Regions from separate parts of the Homo sapiens genome. Here regions 1, 2 and 3 are each linked to region 4. Evidence: promoter capture Hi-C in 16 types of primary human blood cells and fetal thymus (Javierre and others, 2016). All regions are on one chromosome and are shown on one strand. The core of a region is centred on a gene start or on the middle of the fragment in contact, and the rest is flanking DNA. Distances in the headings are between cores, read along the strand shown. Region 1 has its middle 86 kb from the start of MPP7-DT. Region 2 overlaps MPP7 (MAGUK p55 scaffold protein 7). Region 3 has its middle 61 kb from the start of MPP7-DT. Region 4 holds the start of RAB18 (RAB18, member RAS oncogene family).

The links. Contacts are between HindIII fragments. The CHiCAGO score rates a contact against its expected background, and 5 or more counts as called.
Region 1: a contact is called between a fragment that was not itself captured here and the fragment with the promoter of RAB18 in region 4, in 1 of 17 cell types (total B cells). The highest score is 6.1, in total B cells.
Region 2: a contact is called between a fragment that was not itself captured here and the fragment with the promoter of RAB18 in region 4, in 1 of 17 cell types (naive CD4 T cells). The highest score is 5.6, in naive CD4 T cells.
Region 3: a fragment that was not itself captured here is called in contact with the fragment with the promoter of RAB18 in region 4 in 2 of 17 cell types (naive CD8 T cells and total CD4 T cells); the score reaches 5.5 in naive CD8 T cells.

The regions. Positions count from the first base shown.
Region 1 is chr10:28,386,113-28,391,447 of GRCh38, forward strand. No RefSeq gene overlaps it. Among named protein-coding and RNA genes, the nearest start is that of MPP7-DT, 86 kb to the left of the region's middle. The HindIII fragment of the contact is 6,114 bases long and covers 1-5,324 here.
Region 2 is chr10:28,257,621-28,263,034 of GRCh38, forward strand. All of the region lies in intron 1 of MPP7 (MAGUK p55 scaffold protein 7), which reads right to left. Among named protein-coding and RNA genes, the nearest start is that of MIR8086, 29 kb to the right of the region's middle. The HindIII fragment of the contact is 2,595 bases long and covers 149-2,743 here.
Region 3 is chr10:28,361,601-28,367,454 of GRCh38, forward strand. No RefSeq gene overlaps it. Among named protein-coding and RNA genes, the nearest start is that of MPP7-DT, 61 kb to the left of the region's middle. The HindIII fragment of the contact is 378 bases long and covers 4,159-4,536 here.
Region 4 is chr10:27,501,017-27,506,441 of GRCh38, forward strand. It overlaps RAB18 (RAB18, member RAS oncogene family), which reads left to right and starts at 3,288. Exons shown (of 7, transcript NM_021252.5): 1 at 3,288-3,421. The coding sequence starts at 3,354. LOC124902399 (a long non-coding RNA gene) reads left to right here and starts at 3,429. Exons shown (of 2, transcript XR_007062097.1): 1 at 3,429-3,708; 2 at 3,963-4,076. RefSeq lists enhancers at 2,984-3,253, 3,364-3,423. The HindIII fragment of the contact is 11,751 bases long and covers 1-4,491 here.

The sequences.
Region 1 (5,335 bases), core at 1,018-3,517, 880 kb after region 4:
AAAACAGGTTGTAGTAAAGAAGCCAACCAAAACCCACCAAAACCAAGATGGTAACAAAAGTGACACCTGGGCATCCTCACTGCTCATTATACACTAATTATATTGCATTAGCATGCTAAAAGACACTCCCACCAGTGCCAAGACAGTTTATAGATGCCGTGGCAATGTGAGGAAGTTACTCTATATGGTTTAAAAAGGGGAGGAGCCCTCAATTCTTGGAATTGCCCACCCCTTTCCCAGAAAACTCATAAATAATTCACTCCTTGTTTAGCACATAATCAAGCCCAAGCTGCTGCTCTGCCTTTGGAGTAGCCATTCTTTATTTCTTTACTTTCTTAATAAACTTGCTTTCAGTTTACTGCAAGGATTCCCCTCCAGTTCTTCACTGTGTGAGATCCAAGAACCCTCTTCATGGGGTCTGGATCAGGGCCCCTTTCCAGTAACTCAAGTGCAGCAATTTTGAAGTTATCAAGAGCACACAGCTTTAGGGAAAGGACAGTGAACAGTGACAGAATGCAGCGAACTAAGGTGAGCATGTGGGAGATACGCAGGCAGAAGCAGTTAGCATGGAGAGATCATCCAGGGATTCTCAGCAGAGTGAGGAGTTAGGGTTTTGTTCAAAGCTCACTGAAGAGCTACTGAGAGGTTCTAAGGAGAGGAGTAACACGTTACGATTTATATCCTTTTGAAAAGCTACTCTCACTGCTGGGTAGAAAGCAGATTGAAGAGGTAGGAGGCAAAGTTAAAAGTGTTTCCTGTCATTGAGTATTCTTTTATCTCCTGACATTTCTGTTCTCCAGTATCATGCTATTGACAATTTCATGTTCCACTTCAATTCCCAAAATGCTCCGTCCTTTTTACAGGTTAAATTTTTTTTATTTTCTTTCTTGCTATTTTTGTTTGTTTGCTCTCTGACTGCATTTCTAGAATCTTAAAGCTCCTGAGAATAATGTTTCTTTCTTCAGGGCATCCTAAACATCTGGATAGGATGCAATAACCAAGTGTAGCCCTGGCCCAGGTGCGCTCATAGCACCGAGGATTGTGTCCTAGGCCCCCACATCTGCTTGGAGACCTATAAAACACTCTCCAGGGAGCATTTGAATGCTTCTTTACTTCCAAGCACTCTAGTTTGTCAGCAAAGGTCTTTCCACAACAGTGATGAAATACTGCGTGTGGCTCCCTGACAAAAGTCTCAGGACACACCCTGCCCTGCCTTAGGGATGGGCACCGACTCTCCCTTAAGCTCAGCGAGCTCGCACAAGCCCTGCCAGTGATCTCCACAGGGCTTACTTGGCTCTTTTTCTGCGCTTCTCAAGCAATGTGCTGACCTGGTCTACTGGGCTGCTGGGATGTCTCGGCTGCCTTGTGCTCCTGGCTGGACATTCTAGGATTAACATTCCTGTACTACCAATTTAGGAAACATAAGTTCACTTGGTGCAGGGCAGAGACACCTTTTTCAATGAGTGAAAATGCCTCTCATCCTAGAGATCTTTCATTTGCCCCTCCAGACCCATTTGCCACCCTTATGAGCTCTCTCAGTCCACAGGAGGCTCTCTGTGGGCACTACACAGTTGTCCTTTAGCATCTGGCTGGGTTAGGCCAATGAAGACCCCAACAGATCAGTGGGAGCAGACTGAGGTCAGAGTTCTTATTCCCCATCGGAGCACAGTGGCTCATGCCTGCATTCCCAGCACTTTGGGAGGCTGAGGTAGGATGACTGCTTGAGCCCAGGAGTTCAAGACCAGTCTGGGCAACATACGGAGACTCTGTACAAATAATTAAAAATAAATTAGCTGGGCATGGTGGCACGCACCTGTAGTCCTAGCTACTTGGGAGCCTGAGGTGGGAGGATGGCTTGATACTGCAGTTGAGTCTGCAGTGACCCATGATTGCACCACTGCACTCCAGCCTGGGTGACAGAGTAAGACTCTGTTAGAAGAACAAATGAAACAAAGGAAGAGAGAGAAAGAGGGGTGGGAGAGGAGGGAAGGGGAAGAAAGGGGAAGGGAGGGGAAGGTGGAAGGGGAAAGGGAAGGGAAGGGGAGGGGAAGGGGGAAGGGAAGGGAGGGGAAGGAGGAAGGGAAGGGAGAGGAAGGGAAGGGAAGAAAAGGGGAGGGGAGGGCAGGATCTTTTTTTTTTTTTTTTTTTTTTTTTTTTTTTTTTTTTAGATAGAGTCTCGCTCTGTCGCCTAGGCTGGAGTGCAGTGGCCTGATCTTGGCTCACTGCAAGCTCCACCTCCCAGGTTAACGCCATTCTCCTGCCTCAGCCTCCCGAGTAGCTGGGACTACAGGTGCCCGCCACCACGCCCAGCTAATGTTTTGTATTTTTAGTAGAGACGGGGTTTCACTGTGTTAGCCAAGATGGTCTCGATCTCCTGACCTCGTGATCCACCAGCCTCCACGTCCCAAAGTGCTGGGATTACCGGCGTGAGCCACCGCGCCCGGCCCGGGGAGGATTATTTTTAAAAAGTAATTTTATCCCCTCCCTGAAGGTTGCTCTCAGGGTTGCAGCCCATCCTGCCCCACAGCCCCCTCTACAAGGCTGTCTCTAGTTCTCCACCCTCCCCTTCCCCTTCCAGGCTTAAGGACAGTAATGTACCTCTGTTGTTACAGGTCCCGGGATTCCCTATTCCTCACCATCTTTGTCCCTTTATAAAATGCTCCTAAAATTATCCCAGTTTGAATGTGCCATCTCTTTCCTGCTAGGACCTTGACAGATACAACTCTCTCCTTGAGAGTCCTTCTGGCCCTCCCGCTGATGGGACATAAGGACATCTGACCTTCAATTGAGAGCGACTTACATCTCACGCCATGCCATTCCTCCTTTCAGCAGGATAGTCCTTCCCAACAGGACCACACTTTATGTCTCCCCAGTCTTTAGGACTGCTTAATTCATTCCACAGAGGACTGTGCCATGTCACACAAATAAAGCCCCACAGTGCACCTAAAGAAGTCCCCTCAACAACCACAGGCTACATGTGCTATTTATGATCTCTCCTTGACAATTACACGACAATGAATGAAGACAAACACTTGGGGGTGTATTACTACACAAAGAGATGAAAAGATGGTGAACCACATTATTAAAGAATAATAATGTCGGGCTCAGTGGCTCACACCTGTAATCCCAGCACTTTGGGAGGCTGAGGCAGGCGGATCACCTGAGGTCGGGAGTTCGAGACCAGCCTGACCAACATGGAGAAACCCCACGGCTACTAAAAATACAAAATTAGCGGGGCATGGTGGCACATGCCTGTAATCCCAGCTACTCAGGAGGCTGAGGCAGGAGAATTGCTTCAACCCAGGAGGCGGAGGTTGCAGTGAGCCAAGATCTTGCCATTGTACTCCAGCCTGGGCAACAAGACAGACGCTCCATCTCAAAAAAAAAATAATAATAATAATAATAATAATAATAACATTAACAACAGTGTTTATTACATGTATACCATGTAGTAGGTGCTTAGTCTAAGCATTTGCCATGTATTAACTTCTTCAATCCTCACAACAATCTTATGAGACAGGGACTGTTGTCACCCTCATTTAATAGGTGAAGAACCCTAGACACAGAGAGGTTGTGTAACTTACCCAAGGCTATACAGCTAGTAATGGCAGATATGGAATTTGAACCAAGGCAATTTGGCTATAAAGTTGATGCTCTTAGGTACAATACTATAAATAATTAAATTATGTGAAATCTTAGTAAGGGGTCCTGGCTTCAATGCTCAGAACTGGCTTGATATTCCTTATGATGGGTTTTGGTGTCCCTTATTATGAAAATATTGGTAAGGAGCAAATAAAATAAATACTGGAAACCTAGACTGCTTAAGACATCAAAAGCACAATAAGAGATTTTAAAATACAATCAATGGCCAGGTGCTGTAATCCCAACACTTTGGGAGGCAGAGGTGGGTTGATCACTTGAGGTCAGGAGTTCGAGACCAGCCTGACCAACATGGTGAACCCTCATCTCTACGAAAAATACAAAAATTAGCCAAGCATGGTGGCGCACACCTGTAATCCCAGCTACTTCGGAGGCTGAGGCAGGAGAATTGTTTGAACCCCTGAGGCAGAGGTTGCGGTGAGCCAAGATTGTGCCACTGCACTCCAGCCTGGGTGACAGAGCAAGACTCTGTCTCAAAATAAAAATAAAAATAAATAAATAAATACAATTAAATACTGTGACATTAGAACACTGGATTTGAGCAAAAGGCATACTTTAAATCCTTGTAATCATTGATTTTGATAAAACAAATTTAGGTTTAAAATAAGTTGTTGATGCACTTATTAAATCTCCTAGGATGCTCATCTTTTTTTTAAAAAGCATATAATTATTTATAGTAATGATCCCCAAATTTTTAGTGCAACAACCAGCAGGGGCTTCGTCATATATGAAGATTCCTGGGCCCCACACAGAATTTCTGAAAAGAAATCCCTAGGGCATCATAGCAGGTGCAATAATGGCCCCTCACAGATGTTCATCCACAAAATACATGAATATATTTTCTTATATGGTAAAAGGGACTTTGCAGATGTGATTACATTAAGGATGTTGAGATGAGGCTGGGCACTGTGGCTCACACCTGTGATCTCAGCACTTTGGGAGGCCGAGGTGGGTGGATCACCTGAAGTCAGGAGCTTGAAACCAGCCTGGCCAACATGGTGAAACCCTGTCTCTACTAAAAATACAAAAATTAGCTGAGCATAGTGGCAGGGACTTGTAGTCCCAGCTACTTGGGAGGCTGAGGCAGGAGAATCGCTTGAACCTGGGAGGTGGAGGTTGCAGTGAGCTGAAATCATGCCATTGCACTCTAGCCTGGGTGAAAAAAAAAAAAAAAAAAAAAAGGATGTTGAGATGAAAATATTCACATGCATTAACTGGGTGGGACCAATGTTATCACAAGGGTCTTTATAGGTGAACGAGGGAGGCAGGAAGGTCAGAGCAGAGAAAGAGATGTGGGCATGAGGATGGAAGCAGAGACCAGAGAGATGCAACCTCCAGCAAAGGAATGCCGGCAGCCTTTATGAGCTGGAAAGGCAAGGAAACAGATTCTCCTCTAAACCATCAGGAAAGCAGAACCCCTGACCCATTTTAGACTTCTGACTTCTGGAATTGGAAGGTAATGAACTGCTGTTGTTTTAAGCCACTAAGCCTTCTTCATTACAGCAGCAAAGGGAAACTAATAAAGGGGTCAGTTCAGAATCTACATTTGTAACAAACCCCCTAGGTCACGGGTCCCCAACCCCTGAGCCATGGATGGGTACCAGTCCATGGCCTGTCAGGAACTGGGCCACAGAGGAGGAGGTGAGTGGTGAGTGAGCAAGTGAAGCTTCATCTG
Region 2 (5,414 bases), core at 196-2,695, 750 kb after region 4:
GCATTGGGAGATATACCTAATGCTAGATGACGAGTTAGTGGGTGCAGCGCACCAGCATGGCACATGTATACACATGTAACTAACCTGCACAAAGTGCACATGTACCCTAAAACTTAAAGTATAATAAAAAAAAAAAAAAAGAAAAGAAAGCTTGTTTCCATGAACGTAACTCTTTTTTATAACAGGTTCTATGTCTGTAATAGCTACATGCAATTCCTGATCAATACAATGTGATATCTCCACATTTCTGACAAACCCCCATGAACATTAAATTTTGTTTAATGGGGGGCTCTGTTTTGGCTTCTCAATGAGAAAAGGGCAGACATTCTGCGGGGAGTAAATATAATCATTTCTAGGTAAGGTATTACAGTCCTGTGCTGACACCTTACAGTACACAAATAACATAAACATACACATCTGCAGAACTTGACAATATTGAGTATTTATGCAGCTATTATTTCACACTTAACCCACACCTTCTAAGGTAGGTTACACCTCCATTCCATCCTTCCCATCCCAGATTCTATAAGAAGGGGACAGACACAAGTCTAGAACCCGATGTTCCTTCCACTTCGTCACACTCCTGTCACCTTTTCAAGTAGAGTCAAGGTGAGACCACCAAGAAGACAAGAAAGGTTAAAAAAAAAAAAAGGCATTGCTGCTATTAATACCAAAAGTCTACAGTTTGCCTATATATACTACTATCTAGTAAATTTCCTATTATACTTAGGACTGATAAGATATAAATAACATATTAAATATTATATATATATATATATATATATAAATTTTTTTTTGAGACAGAGTCTCACTCTGTCACCCAGGCTAGAGTGCAGTGGCATGATCTCAGCTCACTGAAACCTCAGCCTCCCAGATTCAAGCAATTCCCCTGCCTCAGCCTCCCAAGTAGCTGGGATTACAGGCATGCCCCACCACACCTGGCTAATTTTTGTATTTTTAGTAGAAACAGGGTTTCACCATGTTCACCAGGCTGGTCTTCAACTCCTGACCTCAAATGATCTGCCCACTTCAGCCTCCCAAAGTACTGGGATTACAGACTTGAGCCACCGCGCCTGGCCTAAATATATATTTAAATAAAATATATTACATTTTACTCCTATTAGTTTTACTAAATGGCAATTACAGGTATCCAAAGAACATTTACTGAGCAACCACCAGGCACTATGCTAGAATCAGAGATATCACAGTGTATCTCCTGTCTCTACTCCTGTGGAGTGGGAGAGAGAGCTCTCCACACAGTGGAAAAACAGAAATCCCTATTTCTGTGAAAACACCAAGTTATTACTGCACTAAACAGCTGCTAAAGGGAAAAAAGAAAGAGCCTTTGTGTAACATGTCTCAGAACTTTTACTCAGAGAATGAGAAGGCTCAGGACTCAAACTTACAGGTGAAACTGCACCTCTAATGTAGACAGCCCACCACCATTCATCCTCCACCAGGTTTTTTTTTAACTCTAAAATATATTAATGAATTTAAACAGAAACAGCTGTTTATCAGTCACCTAAATTAGTAGTTCTCACACTTTTGATCATTCATATGCCAGCCTCACAATTTTTACATTACATACAAAACTACTTTTTTACTTAACAATTTTCTTACACAGAGTTATTTTATTTAAATACCTATTTTAGACTCCTTTTAAATACCTACAGTGAGGCCAGGTGCAGTGGCTCACACCAGTAATCTCACCACTTTGGGAGGTCTAGGCCAGCGGATTGCTTGAGCTCAAGAGTTCGAGACCAGCCTGGGCAACATGGTGAAACCCTGTCTCTGATAAAAATACAAAAAATTAGCCAGGCGTCATGGTGCACGCCTGTAGTCCCAGCTACTTGTGAGGCTGAGGAGGGAGAATCACTTGAGCCCAGGAGGTGGGACTGAACCACTGCAGTGAGCCGAGATTGCACCACTGCACTCCAGCCTGGGTGACAGAGAGAGACTCCATCAAAAAGAAAAAGAAAAAGATGAGGGGAGGGGGAGGGGAGAGAAGAGAAGGATGCAGGGAGGCAGGAGATGAGTTAGTTATGTTTTCTAATATGCATGAAAATAAAAGCATATGGGCAGGTGCAGTGGCTCATGCCTGGAATCCCAGTACTTTGGGAGGCTGAGGTGGGAGAATCGCTTGAGCCCAGGAGTTCTAGGCCAGAGCGTGGGCAACATGACAAAATCCCATCTCTACAAAAAAATACAAAAAATTAGCCAGGCACGGTGGTGTGCCCCTGTAATGCCAACTGCTCAGGAGGCTGAGGTGGGAGGATCACCTGAGTCCAGGAAGTCAAGGCTGCAGTGAGCCATGATTGTGCCACTGCACTCCAGCCTGGGTGACAGAGCAAGAGTCTGTCACTCTGTCCCCCATAACAAGAAAAGCATAGTGCTTAAAACAAAAACTCTTCATTAGAATACTTCAGAAATAACCCTGCATGTCCATACTTAGGAAACATTGATATTTAACAAAACAAACAAAAACACAGAAAACACTATATTAGCAGCTATTTATAAATACTGTTACAATAATTTTATGGCATTATCATCATCGACATATTTGAGTCCATCCCTCTTTCTACTTGTTAATTAATACATGCTTAATTATCTAAAAAGTATTCAATCATTTCCAGTGGCAATTCATCCATTCCAGTCTCCCTGGCTCTCTATAAATGATCTATGTATTATATTATGTATTAGTCTATATGTATGCATTAGTTAATGATCTGAAGCAGTTATACAAAGCTTCCTTATACCTACAGACTATAAATGGTTCTTTCCTTCAATCACTTGTCAAGATAAAGAAATCTAAAACATATGAAAATACCAGAGACTATATTTAACTATGTTCTAACCAAATAGTATGTTTCTGGCCAGGCATGGTGGCTCATGCCTGTAATCCCAACACTTTAGGAGGCCAAGGTGGGCGGATCACCTGAGGTCAGGAATGAGACCAGCCTGACCAACAGGGCAAAACCCTGTCTCTACTAAAAATACAAAAATTAGCCAGACATGGTGGCACATGCCTGTAGTGCCACCTACTCAAGAGGCTGAGACAGGAGAATCGCTCGAACCTAGGAGGCGGAGGTTGCAGTGAGCCAAGATTGTGCTGCTGCACTCCAGCTTGGGTAACAGAGAGACTCCATCTCAAAAAAAAAAAAAAAAAAAAAAAAATTTTTTTTAAATAGCATGTTTCTTCTGGCACAATTTAAAGTGAAAGTGAAAAGGCTCTGTTTTCTACATGATGCATTTCAACTCAGTGTGAGTTGATTTATTTTATGCCCAATTGATGTTAGAGAAAGAATTCAAATGGTTTTTCCAAGTATGTAAGGTGCCTACAAAATTACACTATAAAATTTATTCTTTAATAGCCTAGTTCTTTACCAAAGCAATTAGTTTTCATAAGTCACTCCAGCAAATCACAAAGCCAGATGGGTCCCCAATTCAATCAATTATCTTTAATCTTTCAACTAAGAAAAATTGCTCTTTATATACTTTGTCTCTGTAGTTCTCTTTCCAGAATTAACCATTTTGGCAGTGATGTATGCTTGTTAGCAAAAGTAGATCCTACACACAGGTGAGAAAACACAGAATTAACTGTGAACACTTTCCTTCCTAGCAAGGTGAGCAGAACACTGAACCATGACTTAACGAAAGACTGCCCAAGTCATTCACTGGGGTGGAACCCTATGGTGTTTATCACAAACATACTTCCCACCAACACGGTGGCTTTGCGCTCCACTGGCCAGTGCTTTTTATATTGAAATGAGTCAAAGACCAGATCCAGCGCAGTCACCATAGTTCCACTAAGATTTAAGCGAGGCAAACCATTGTCCCTGCCATTCTATCCTAAATGTGGTCATAAGTGGGACAGCAGAGAAAGCCACAGTACTTATCCAAGGTTGCAACACCTCCACTCTTCTGCTGACCTCCAAATACATACCTAGGCAGCACAGCCTTCTCCATCAGGTGACCCCAGAGTACACAGAGTGTGGATATCAGACACACCCCAATGACAATGACGTAGAACACCCTCCAATGTAGTACAAGAAACTGATCATACAATATACTCACAAATACATTTCTCTATCCTGAGAGAGAGACCGGTTTATCTCACTTTCTATCTCTCCATTTATAATTTTTGGCCAGGTGCCAATGGCTCATGTCTGTAACCTCAACACTTTGGGAGGCCGAGGCAGGAGGATTGCTTGAGCCCAGGAGCTCGAGACCAGCTTGGGCAACATAACAAGACCCCATTATGGCTCACACCTGTAATCCCAGCACTTTGGGAGGCCGAGGTGGGTGGATTGCTTGAGGTCAAGAGTTCAAGACCAGCCTGGCCAACATGGTGAAACCCCATCTCTACTAAAAATACAAAAAATTAGCCGGGCATGGTGGCGCACACCTGTAGTCCCAGCTACTCAGGAGGCTGAGGCAGGAGAATCGCTTGAACTTGGGACCAGAGGTTGCAGTGAGCTGAGAATGCACCACTGCACTCCAGCCTGGGCGACAGAGCAAGACTCTGTCTCAAAAAAAAGAAAAAGGAAATAAATAAATAAATAAATTATATATATATATATATATATACATATATATATATATATACATATATATATATATATACATATATATATATATGTATATATATATATATATATTTTTTTTTTTTTCTTCACCATGTTGGCCAGGATGGTCTCGCTCTCCTGACCTTGTGATCCACCGGCCTCGGCCTCCCAAAGTGCTGGGATTACAGGTGTGAGCCACCATGCCCAGCCAATAATATAATTTTTGACTGAACTAGTAATTTATAATGAAACTAACAGTATATCCCAAAGAGGCACAATGCATTAAGCCAGTAACTGCAAGTCCTTTTAAAAAGTTGTCACAAATATTTTAGGTTACTACACAGGTGTCATAAATAATACTCTAGTATAAATGGCCTTTGGCCCTTTGGAAGCCACAGACATTTTTTAATCTGATGAAAACTATGGATCCTTTCTTTCCTAAGAAACATTCGCTAGTTACACAAAAAGCTGCACCTATTCTAAACAGGTTGTACATTCATTAGACTCTAAAGTCCAATCATGTACACAGCTCAGGAACTCTTACTTGAGTGGCTTGAGGAGACTAATACAATGCTAAATCTCACATTTAGCCGGACGCAGTGGCTCACGCCTGTAATCCCAGCACTTTGGGAGGCCGAGGTGGGCAGATCATTTGAGGTCAGGAGTTAGGCATGAGCCTGACCAACATGGTGAAACCCCATCGCTACTAAAAATAAAAAAATTAGCCAGGAGAGGTGGCATGTGCCTATAATCCCAGCTACTCAGGAGGCTGAAGCACGAGAATCGCTTGAACCCAGGAGGCGGAGGCTGCAGTGAGCTGAGTTCGCACCACCGCACTCCAGCCTGGGC
Region 3 (5,854 bases), core at 3,098-5,597, 860 kb after region 4:
GAGATCGAGACCATCCCGGCTAAAACGGTGAAACTCCGTCTCTACTAAAAATACAAAAAATTAGCCGGGCGTGGTGGCGGGCGCCTGTAGTCCCAGCTACTTGGGAGGCTGAGGCAGGAGAATGGCGTGAACCCGGGAGGCGGAGCTTGCAGTGAGCCGAGATCCCGCCACTGCACTCCAGCCTGGGCGACAGAGCGAGACTCCATCTCAAAAAAAAAAAAAAAAAAAAAAAAAAATTAGCTGGGCGTGGTGGCACCCACCTGTAATCTCGGCTACTTAGGAGTCTGAGGCAGGAGAATCGCTTGAATCCAGGAGTTGGAGGTTGCAGTGAGCTGAGATCAAGCCACTGCACTCCAGCCTGGGCGTCAGAGCAAGACTCCATCTCAAAACAAACAAACAAACAAACAAACAAACAAACAAACAAAACAGGCCGGCGCGGTGGCGCACACCTATAATCCCAGCACTTTTGGGGGGCCAAGGCGGGTGAATCACGAGGTCAGCGAGGTCAGGAGATCGAGACCATCCTGACTAACACGGTGAAACCCCGTCTCTACTAAAAATACAAAAAAAATTAGCCGGGCCTGGTGGCGGGCGCCTGTAGTCCCAGCTACTCATGAGGCTGAGGCAGGAGAATGGCGTGAACCCAGGAGGTGGAGCTTGCAGTGAGCCGAGATCGCGCCACTGCACTCCAGCCTGGGCGACAGAGTGAGACTCCGTCTCAAAAAAAACAAAAACAAAAACAAAAACAAAGTGCAATACCACGACATACCCAGTAGAGTGGCTAAAATGAAAGACACCGACCATGCCAAGTGTTGGGGATGATGAGCAAGCGGAACCCTCATACAACGCTGGCAAGAATGTAAAATGGACGACTACTTTGGAAAGCATCATACGTGAAAGTTTACAGGTGTTTTATTCACCATTATCCCAAACTGGGAACACACAAATGCCCACACAGGTGAGTGGATAAACAAACTGTGGTGTATCCATACAATGGAAGAGTGGTCAGGCATTTAAAAGAAATGGGTTACTGATACACACAGCAACATAATTACATTATGCGGAGTGAAAAAAGCCCGTCAAAAAAGAGTACATACACTATATACACAGTATTTGATATGTGGATCTAGTTCCACTTCCATAAAATTCTAGGAAATACAAATAAATCTACAGTGACAAAAAGCAGATCACGGTTGCCTAGGGACAGGAAGTGAATGGACAGGGACAGGAGAGAAAGATTACATGAGGATGAGAAGAATCTTGTGAGGGTGATGAATACATTTATTATCTTAGTTACAGTTCTGGTTTCAAAGGTATATACATATGTCAGAAGTATCTTACAGTACACTTGTGTACTGTTTGTTGTATAAGCTGTAGGGAAAAATGCAAGGGTCTTTTTATTTTTTATGTTTATTTTTAATTTTTTTAAGAGATAAGGTCTCACTCTGTGGCCCACGCTGGAGTACCGTGGTGCAATCATAGCTCACTGCAGCCTTGAACCTCTAGGCTCAAATGAACCCCTTGCTTCAGCCTCCTAAGTACCTGGGACTACAGGTGTGCCACAATTCCCAGCTAATTTTTTTAGTTTTTGTGTAAACATGCTGGGGCTGTCTCACTATATTGCCTAGGCTGGTCTCAAACTCTTGGCCTCAAGCCGTCTCACCTCGACCTTCCAATGTGGTGGGATTACAAGCATGAGCCACCATGACCAGCTCAGAGCACTTTTCATATATAGTAGTAATGTCTTTAGTTAATATAATTGATTTCGACACTGAAATCTTATTATATTTTGGCCCATTCTCCTTCTCTCTTTCTCTTTCATATTATTGAATTTCTAGAATGCTATTACAACCTATTTAATGTATTTTATGTTATGTATTCATTCAAAATGAATAAAGAGCCTGTTATGGCCAGATACTTGCTATGCCCTGAGAAGATAAAGATAAGGGAATCCAGTCATTATGGTAAGGGCCTATTGTCAGCATTATGTTGAGGAAACATCTGCTAACTTCAAACCACACCTTATTTAGGCCTTTTCTTTGGAAGATGACACCACATGTTATTTTATTTTTATACTTTTCTCCATGTAGAGACATTTCTATGAAGAAGAGGAATGTATCAGAACATGTACTTCAAGCCAAAGGACAATTCTGCAAGAGAGAATGAGAAGTCCTCCCCTGGATCTGATTCTGAATCTTGATTCCAGAATTCACAAGTAGGCTCGGTAGTCACACTGGGTCTCACATGAGTGGGATCTGAGCCTAGGCCCCCTGAACCAACGGGGAAGAGTGTGACCCCAGCCAGGCTGTGATAGGGAGGGTTATAATAACACATACGCAAAAGGCCCCTCAGAGAACACTGCGGAAAGATGAGAAACTTGCATCCAGGACCAGCCTTTCCAGAGGGCAAAAAGGAGACTCTCCCAGCATTTATGTAAGAGTGCACTGCAACACAATTAATAAATATTCTGAAGAAGAGTAAACCCATGGTGAAACCCCTCTACTAAAATACAAAAAATTAGCCGGGCGTGGTGGCACACGCCTGTAGTCCCAGCTACTTGGGAGGCTGAGGCAGGAGAATCGCTTGAGCTTGGGAGATGGAGGATGCAGTGAGCTGAGATCATGCCACTGCACTCCAGCCTGGTGATGGAACAAGACTCCATCAAAAAAAAAAAAAAAAAAACGAAGAAGGAGGAGGAGGAGGAGGAGGAGAAACTACAGTGTGATGTCAACTTCTTTCTCACAACTTCACATCACTGGATAATTGTTTTAAAAAACAGAACAATAAGGCTAGGCATGGTGGCTCATGCCTGTAACCCAGTGCTTTGGGAGCCTGAGATAGGAGGATCACTTGAGGTCAGGAGTTCAAGACCAGCCTGGGCAATGTAATGAGACTCTATCTCTACAAAAAATTTAAAACAAAACAGGCTGAGCATAGATAAAAGTCTACTGGGGAGGCTGAAGCTACTGGGGATGCCAAAGCAGGAGGATTTCTTGAGCCCAGGAGTTCGAGGCTGTAGTGAGCTATAAGCATCACACCACTGTACTCCAGCCTAGGCAACAGAGCGAGACCCTATCTCAAAAAAATAAAAATAAAAAAACAAAGTCTACCACCACCCTATCACCTAAAAGCCATTATTACTGCCTCAGAAAAGTTAGCCAACTTAATGATTATAATTAAGAAAACTTTTCTAACAGAAAGTGCTATGATGATCTATTACACAAATTATTTTGAAAAACATTTTTTAAAAAATGATACTAATGAAAAAAAATCACAACAGGTATAATACAACCTAAACTCATTTACAAGTATGAAACCCCCACACATCCTAGCCTTGATTTTAAAATAATACTGAAATATTTACAAGTCAAACATTCTTAAGTTTATATATATATATATAAAATAAAATACATATATTTTTACAGACAGAGTTTTGCTCTGTTGCCCAGGCTGGAATGCAGTAGTGCAATCTCAGCTCACTGTAACCTCTGCCTCCCAGGCTCAAGCAGTTCTCAAGCCTCAGCCCCCTGAGTAGCTGGGACTACAGGTGCACACCACCACGCCCTGCTAATTTTTTTATTTTTAGTAGAGACAGGGTTTCACTATGTTGGCCAGGCTGGTCTCGAACTCCTGATCTCAGGTGATCTGCCTGCCTCGGCCTCCCAAAGTGCTGGGATTACAGACGTGAGCCACTGCGCCCAGCCTTAAGTTATGTTTAAAAAAAAACATTATAAAAGTGCAATTTTTAAAAATCCTAATGCAAGAAGACAATATGGAGACAATAAAGGGGTTTTATCCTAAGTACTACTTTGGGACCCTGGAAATGTTTTAAAAGACTCAATTGTTGCTACCACGTGACCTGGCTTCATATCTTTTTCCAGTCCAGGTTGTGGCACATGAAATCTAGAGCTCTCCTATTGCCTGCTGTGGAAGACAGAAATTACAGAGGAAGGAGAGGCTCACAGAGAAAAGAAGGAAAAATAATAAGGAAGAGGAAAGACAGAATAGGAAAGAGTTGGAGGAGAAAAACAAAAATAAAACAGGTTGAGAAAAATAGGATAAGTGAAAAAAGGAGGAAGAAGGAGAAAGAGTGATGAAAACAACATATGAAGGAAACTGAAAAGTGAGCTGCTTATGCAGATTTAGGGGTAAAGGAAAAGCTTCACCTCCGCCCTCTGAAAGATGTGCTGAACATGAATGGACAATAGCCAGGTTAATAGAAGAAAACAGCAAACAAATGTATGTAATGTGCATTAGCACAGGGGAGTCACAGAAGGATGATTACCCAGTAACCCAATGAGGCTCAGTTGCTTTTATATCCTTCTTTGTGGAGGAATGGGAGAAAAGGGAAATATGGCTATTTTTAGACGTAGTGAATGATTTATAGGGGAGATGAATGAGCCCCATGCTCAGACAATGGTAAGTAAATGATTCTCTTTGGAAATTGAATGGGATCAGAGAACAGATGATAGTTTGGGACAAAGTTCATCTGGGCTCCAGGTGTGGTGTTTCACTTTCAGTCTCCTCTGTGATACAAGCTTTAATCTTCTCAGGTTAATGAAATTTCAGGGAGGATATTGAAGGCAATTGTGTTCCTTTTTGGCGGGTCCAGTTTCTACCTAGATTAGGGAACTTCAGAGAACATTCTCTTCTTGTGCATTTGGGAGAGACAGAAGGTGAAGAGACAGGAGTTGGAGGTGGGGAGAAGGTCAGAGTGAACTTGAGGCTGCTTCTTTATTTCAGTATGTCAAAGCACCATATTTTGGGGTATCGTTTGCTGATCCCCAACATGTATGCAGTGTTTACATATAATTTGCTTCTATCTTTATAGACTGGGGTGTATAATCCAGTGGTTTTCAGATTTGCTTTCATTGTTACTATTTAAAAAGCTAAAGGGTACAACGTTCATTATTTGGGTGATGGGTAAGCTAGAAGTCCAGTCCCACCAGGATGCAACACACCCATGTAACAAACATGCACGTGCACCCCCTGAATCTAAAATAAAATAGCTAGAAGCTGGGCGTGACTGTTCATACCTGTAATCCCAGCACTTTGGGAGGCTTGGGCAGGTGGATTGCTTGAGCTCAGGAGTTCAAAACCAGCCTGGGCAACATAGCAAGACCCCATCCCTACAAAAAATACAAAACTTAACCAGGTGTAGTGGTGCACACCTGTGGTTCCAGCTACTCAGGAGGCTGAGGTGGGAGGATAGCTGGAGCCTGGGAGGTTGAGGCTGCAGTAAGCCATAATTGCACCACTGCACTCCAGCCTGGGTGACAGAGCAAGACCCTGTGTCATAAAAAATAAAAATAAAAATAGATAGAAAGTCTTATAATTTTCTTTTTCTTCTCACCCACCCATGACATTAATCTAGAATTAGGTGGAGCAGGCAAAAGAGGAGAGATTGGGCCCCTGGGAATTTGTACCGAGTCGCAAATGGCTCATGAGTTACTGAGAACCCTCACTGGAGAACACGTGCCTTGTGGAAACCCTCTTGTGATATAAGCAGCAGGGGCACCCCTGCCAGTTTCAAAATCGTGTGACAAATGGACACAGACCTGTGCCCCCCACTGTCAGAGCCTATCTGCTCTCTACAGGGGCTTCCTTTTGAAGAGTCAAGCTTCTTGCCAAGCTATCTTTCAGCCAAAAACCATTTTCCTCTAGTTTACAGGAAAAAGAGGAAGAAAAAGCCCACCCATCCTTTTCTGGGTTGATTATTTTCCATTTGAAATTAACGAGCTTCCCACGATGAAGCCAAGTTGTTTTGTTCGGATAATGAAATTGCATTTTTGCTTCACACGCAGCAATTCAAACTAACGTGGGCTCCAGCCATTTAGGGAACAGGTCCTTAGTA
Region 4 (5,425 bases), core at 2,038-4,537:
GACTTCTCTCACTACCAACTCCTAAACTCTAGCCACAGACGCCTGTTACACTTGGACCCAAGCAGTCCTACATAAGCCATGAGTCACAGTGCTCATGTTGGTACCTGTTCACAGAATGTGAGTTCTGCAAGCAGCATTTCTCTTATCTTCATTACTGATGCCGAAGGATGGAGAAAAGTCAAAGGCCTGAATCTGTTTTTTTCTCTCATCTGTTGTCTATCTCTGGGGCTGCCCACTGTAGGCATGTTACTGACAGCAACATGGGATGGGCCTTCTCCATCACATCTCCAAGTGGTTTCGCCATTTCAATTTCTTCCTACATACTGGGCTTGCTCATTGCTCATCCCAAACTTCAGGTATTAAGAATATTGCCATAGACATTCCTTTATGAGGTGATCATATATTTGGATATGGTAAAAATAATTAATACTAGAAGATGGATCCACAGGGAAAAGGGCAGTCAGTTATGTCTGAAACCTAAGAAAGGATTTGGCTGTGTTTTCCAGGGATGTAAGGATAATAGTATATAGAAGAGAACACCTAGGCCAAATTGTTGGTTAGAACACCTAGGCCATCTCCTTGGTTCATTTTTTTAGTGTCTTGCTATCTGTCCTGAATCTTGGAACCACTGCTCTAAAAGAGGTCTGAAAAATTTTGCCTTCAAGGCTCACCTTTACATAAAATTCACTATGGCTGAAACGAAACTCATATTCCTTCTTGTTTCTGTCTTGGGTTTTCTCTCAGATTGGTAGTGCCGAGGCTTGAAACATTAGAGAAATGTTCGATGTTTTTCTTTCCCTTTTCTTTCCCCTCTTCTTCACTAAGCATGGGACAGTTATTCATTGTGTCTTTTAAGTACATCTCTTTATTGCCAGCCCCCATGTGGGGATGTCTTGGCAGTTGTGTATGTTGGCCTGAACCTCAGGAGAAAAATCTCAGCCAGAGATGTAAATTCGGGAGGCCGAGGCAGGGGGATTGCTTGAGCCCAGCAGTTTGAGACCAGCAACATAGCAAGACCCCATCTCTAAAAAAATGTTTTAAAAATTAGTTAGGCGTGGTGATGCATGCCTGCAGTTCCAGCTACTCAAAGGCTGAGGTAGGAGGATTACTTCTTGAGCTCAGAAGTTAGAGACCACCCTGGGCAGCATAGCAATATCCCATCTCTTAAAAAAAAAGAAAAGAAAAGAAAAGAAAAAGAAAGAGAGGAAATGGCCAAGAGATGGAGGAAATCCAAGAGAAAATGATATTGCCAAAGTACGTCAACAGTATTACAGGTTGCAAGAGATAGCCCTGGATTTATTGATGAAGTTTTTGTTTTTGTATTTATCTTGGTGTGAATAGCACAGTGCAATGGTTCTCACACTTTTTGGTTGTACAAATTATAGTATACTCTTAAAAATCATTGAGGACCTGAAAGAGCTTTTGATTGTAAGAACCCCAAAGAGATTACATCTCTTATTTATCCTACTAGAAATTAAAACTGAGAAAATTTCAAACATGTTAATTTACTTAAAAACAATAATAAACCTATTACCAGTTAATAGAAATGTTTATGAAAATAACTACTTTAAAACAGAACAAAATTGAGAACAGTGGCAATGTTTTACATTTTAGGAAATCCCTTTAATATCTGGCTTAATATCATAGAAAACCAGTAAGTTCACATATCTTGTTCTGCCTTCAATCTGTTTTGCTATTACATGTTATTAATATATAGCCTCTGGAAAACTCCATTATATTATCATCAGAGAATGTGCATGAAAAAATAACATATTAACTATGAAAATAGTTTGATCTTGCAACCCCCCTGAAAGGTTTTCAGGGATTTCTAGGGATCTCGGGACCCCAGGGCAGGAGAGCTTGACAATACTGTGAACCTCATAAATAAGATCTTTTTGTCATAATGAAAAGTAAGCTAGATAGACTTGACTGAAGTTTCAAGGGCTATCTGATGAGAAGTGGAGGTTGTTTCATTGACATTATTCTCTAAGGTTAGGAATGGACTCTACAACATTCATTCAATTAATTCATTCAGCATACATTTATTTAGCACATATTATGTGCCATGAAGTACTCTAGATACTGAAGACATACCAGTAGACAAAACAAAATATCCTTGCCTTCATGAGACTTCTAATAAAGTAGTAAAATATATAGTGTATCAGAGAGTGGTTAAATCCTATGCAGAAAAACAATGTAAAGAGGTCTAGAGAATGCTGGAGGGATTTGCATATTTCAGTAGAATGGACAGGGAAGGCCTCTTTAAGAATGCAACATTTGAGCGAAGACCTGAAGGAGGAGAAGCCATTGGGATATCTTTTGAAAGGGCTTTTCCAGCTATTTAACAAATTAATTTCTTAACATTTGAAATTTTATTTATATGTAGTCTTTAATCAAATATCCATTGTATATGACATTAGCTGCAGGTATAAGGAAATAAGACAAGAGAACTGAGGTTTATTGAGTGCCTGCCATGTACCAGGCACTGTGCTAAGTATTATGAATGAGGTTTGGTACCTTCACTAAGATTTACAACTTAATGCAGGAGGCAAGGTGTAGACATACACTTCCTGCAGTATGGGTGTAGCAGTTCTTATGAGGAAGGAGAGTTGACTTGAAGTTGCACCGCCAGAAGTAATGCACCTGACCTACCTGAAGTCTACGCCTCCCTTTCAAGATGAATTAGGGTGCAGAGGGTGCTCTCCACTATAACAGAGGGGAAGCCAGCAAGATAATACCTGATCACACCTTTTATAGAGCACTTTGGTTAACAACATGTCTTCACAAATTAACTCACTTAACCTTCATAACAATAAGAAGCAGATGTTCTAAGAAGTGTTACTGTGTCTCTCAGAGATGGAGAAAGGCTAAGAAAGCTGGGTAGTATGACAAGGCAGTTATAAGGTAGAGCTGGACCTAAATTTAAGATAATCTGCTTCAAGCACAGTGCTTTTCCCACCGCAGTGCAGCTGTTATGAGCAGCTGCCGAAATAAAACAGCTTGATATTCTCCTGACTGAGTCCTCCCACTGACTCAAAAGGAGGGTTAGGTTGAGGCTGGGGCGGAGCTAGACCTCAAGAAGAAGCCAACAAAGTCACACACAGCGCTCCCCACCTGCGCTTGCGCAGGGGAGGAACACGCAGTCCGGAAAAACGCCGGGGATTCTGGGTCGCGCAGCCGTGGAGCTACCTCAAGGCGGAACTGGGGAGTCCAGGGCTTCGGCAGCCTGAACACCCGGTGTGAAAGGAAGGTGGCAGACGTGGAGCGGCGCGCATGCGCAGCAGCTCACTCTGCTGAAGGGCTGAGAGGCGCACCCGGGCGGCCAGCTGGGCTCGGAGCGGAACGGGGTCAGGATGGACGAGGACGTGCTAACCACCCTGAAGATCCTCATCATCGGCGAGAGTGGGGTGGGCAAGTCCAGGTGAGGCGGAGGTGCGGGTCGTGACGAGGGTGGCTGGGCTCTTTCTGCCCCGGTGGCTGCTGTCTCCTGGGCCGCGACGGGAACTGTAAACTGCAGCGGCGGGCTCGGGCCGGCTCCGCTCGCGCCCTCCTCGGCCTCTGGGCCGCGCTCTCCCGCGACGTTTGCTTTCCTCTCCCCACCCGCGCCTGCCTGGTTCCCGGCCTTTGCCAGGCCCAAGTTCTCTGGGTCGCTCTCCCTCCTGTAGCGCCGAGAAAACACCATTCCGAGGGCCGCCGCTCGGCCGGCAGGTTTGCTGCGCGGAGCTCAGGGCGTGGCGGGCTGGTTTGGGCCCGAATCCGGCCGGGGGCGCCTTGCCTCGAACCTCTCGGGGTTCAGGCTGCCTGCCACCCCGAGACCCGGGAGACATAGCTTTCCCACTTGAGGGTTTCTGTGGGGCCTTCTCTAAATACATAATGTCCTCGGGAAGTTTCGTGACGCCTTAGGTCCCATTCCTGGCCTGTTTGGGCGCAGCTTAATGTCGATTCTTTTACTTTTTTATTAGTCGGCTGTGAAAGAACTGGATCTTGTGACTGCTGGAAAATTTCGCTTTAGTGTAAGGTCCGAGTGCTTCAGCCGTGGGCCACCTTTGAAAATAAAATGTAATTGTTATTTCTCATTTTGCCACATCCTGTGGAGACAGAAGATTAGTGTTGTGCTTTCATTTTTTACTTTTTCCTTGGGGAAAATAATATTGACAGTGGAGTTGAGTATAAGGTAAGACATGGATCTAGGTGGATGTTGCTAGAGGGCTGTGATTTCATCCAGGTCTTGGAAGAGAGTTCTCCAGCTGATGTCATTCTTGCCATCTGATTATGAGTAGGTTATGTTCAAGGCCGTCCTGATCCTTAAACCACATTTGCACTCCAGGGGCTGTAATCAGTTTCATATTTTAGCTATACCTTCTGATACACGTATCTTTCAAATAATTTTTTGTATTTCATAAATTGAAATAGCCTTAATTCTACAAACTAGAATGAAAGCTCTCCTCAAATAACTTGTAAAAGTCACTTCATAAAGTCTTACTTTTTAAAAGCTTCTTCAGAATTTGAAAGCTTATGTAATATATTCTGATATTATTTACTTATTTATTTATTTATTTTTTGAGACGGAGTCTCGCTCTGTTGCCAGGCTGGAGTGCAGTGGCGCGATCTCGGGTCACTGCAACCTCCGCCTCCCGGGTTCAAGCGATTCTCCTGCTTCAGCCTCCCGAGTAGCTGGGACTACAGGCGCGCACTATCATGCCCAGCTAACTTTTGTACTGTTAGTAGAGATGGGGTTTCACCATGTTGGCCAGGATGGTCTCCATCTTTTGACCTCGTGACCCGCCCACCTCGGCCTCCCAAAGTGCTAGGATTACAGGCGTGAGCCACCAGTTTGACAACACATTTTCATAGTGTTCCTCATGTAATGTCCTCTGTGTCTACTGGAATGAAGGATTTGCACATACCAAGGAATAGAATAATGAAATACTATGAGTTAGCAAACCAGCATGATTTGTCTGTGTGTGTGTAAAAGGCATGAGTAAAATTATTTACATGATCATCTATTATTGCACATACATATTTGAGTGTTAAAAAGTTAAACGTTGTCTTAATAGGAATTTCACAGCCTTGTGATCTTTCTTTTTCTTTTCTCCTTTTTTCCTTGAGATATCGTTCTCATTTAAGTTCAGGCATATGAAATTAGTGTTTTTGAAGTCAAGAATGGTTGGTTGTCATTTCATGTAGTTCAACCCAATACATGGTTGGTTAGCACTTTTTCTAAATGTATTGCATGGATGACAAGTTAGGGTATGTTAAAATTTTCTGGAAGGTTAACTGGAGTATATAAACAAAATTCCTCTGCTCTACCCGCTGTTTTTTTGAGACAGGGTCTTATTCTGTCACCCAGACTGGAGTGCAGTGGCATGATCATAGCTCACTGCAGTCTCAATCTCCTGGGCTCAAGTGATCCTCCCACCTCAGC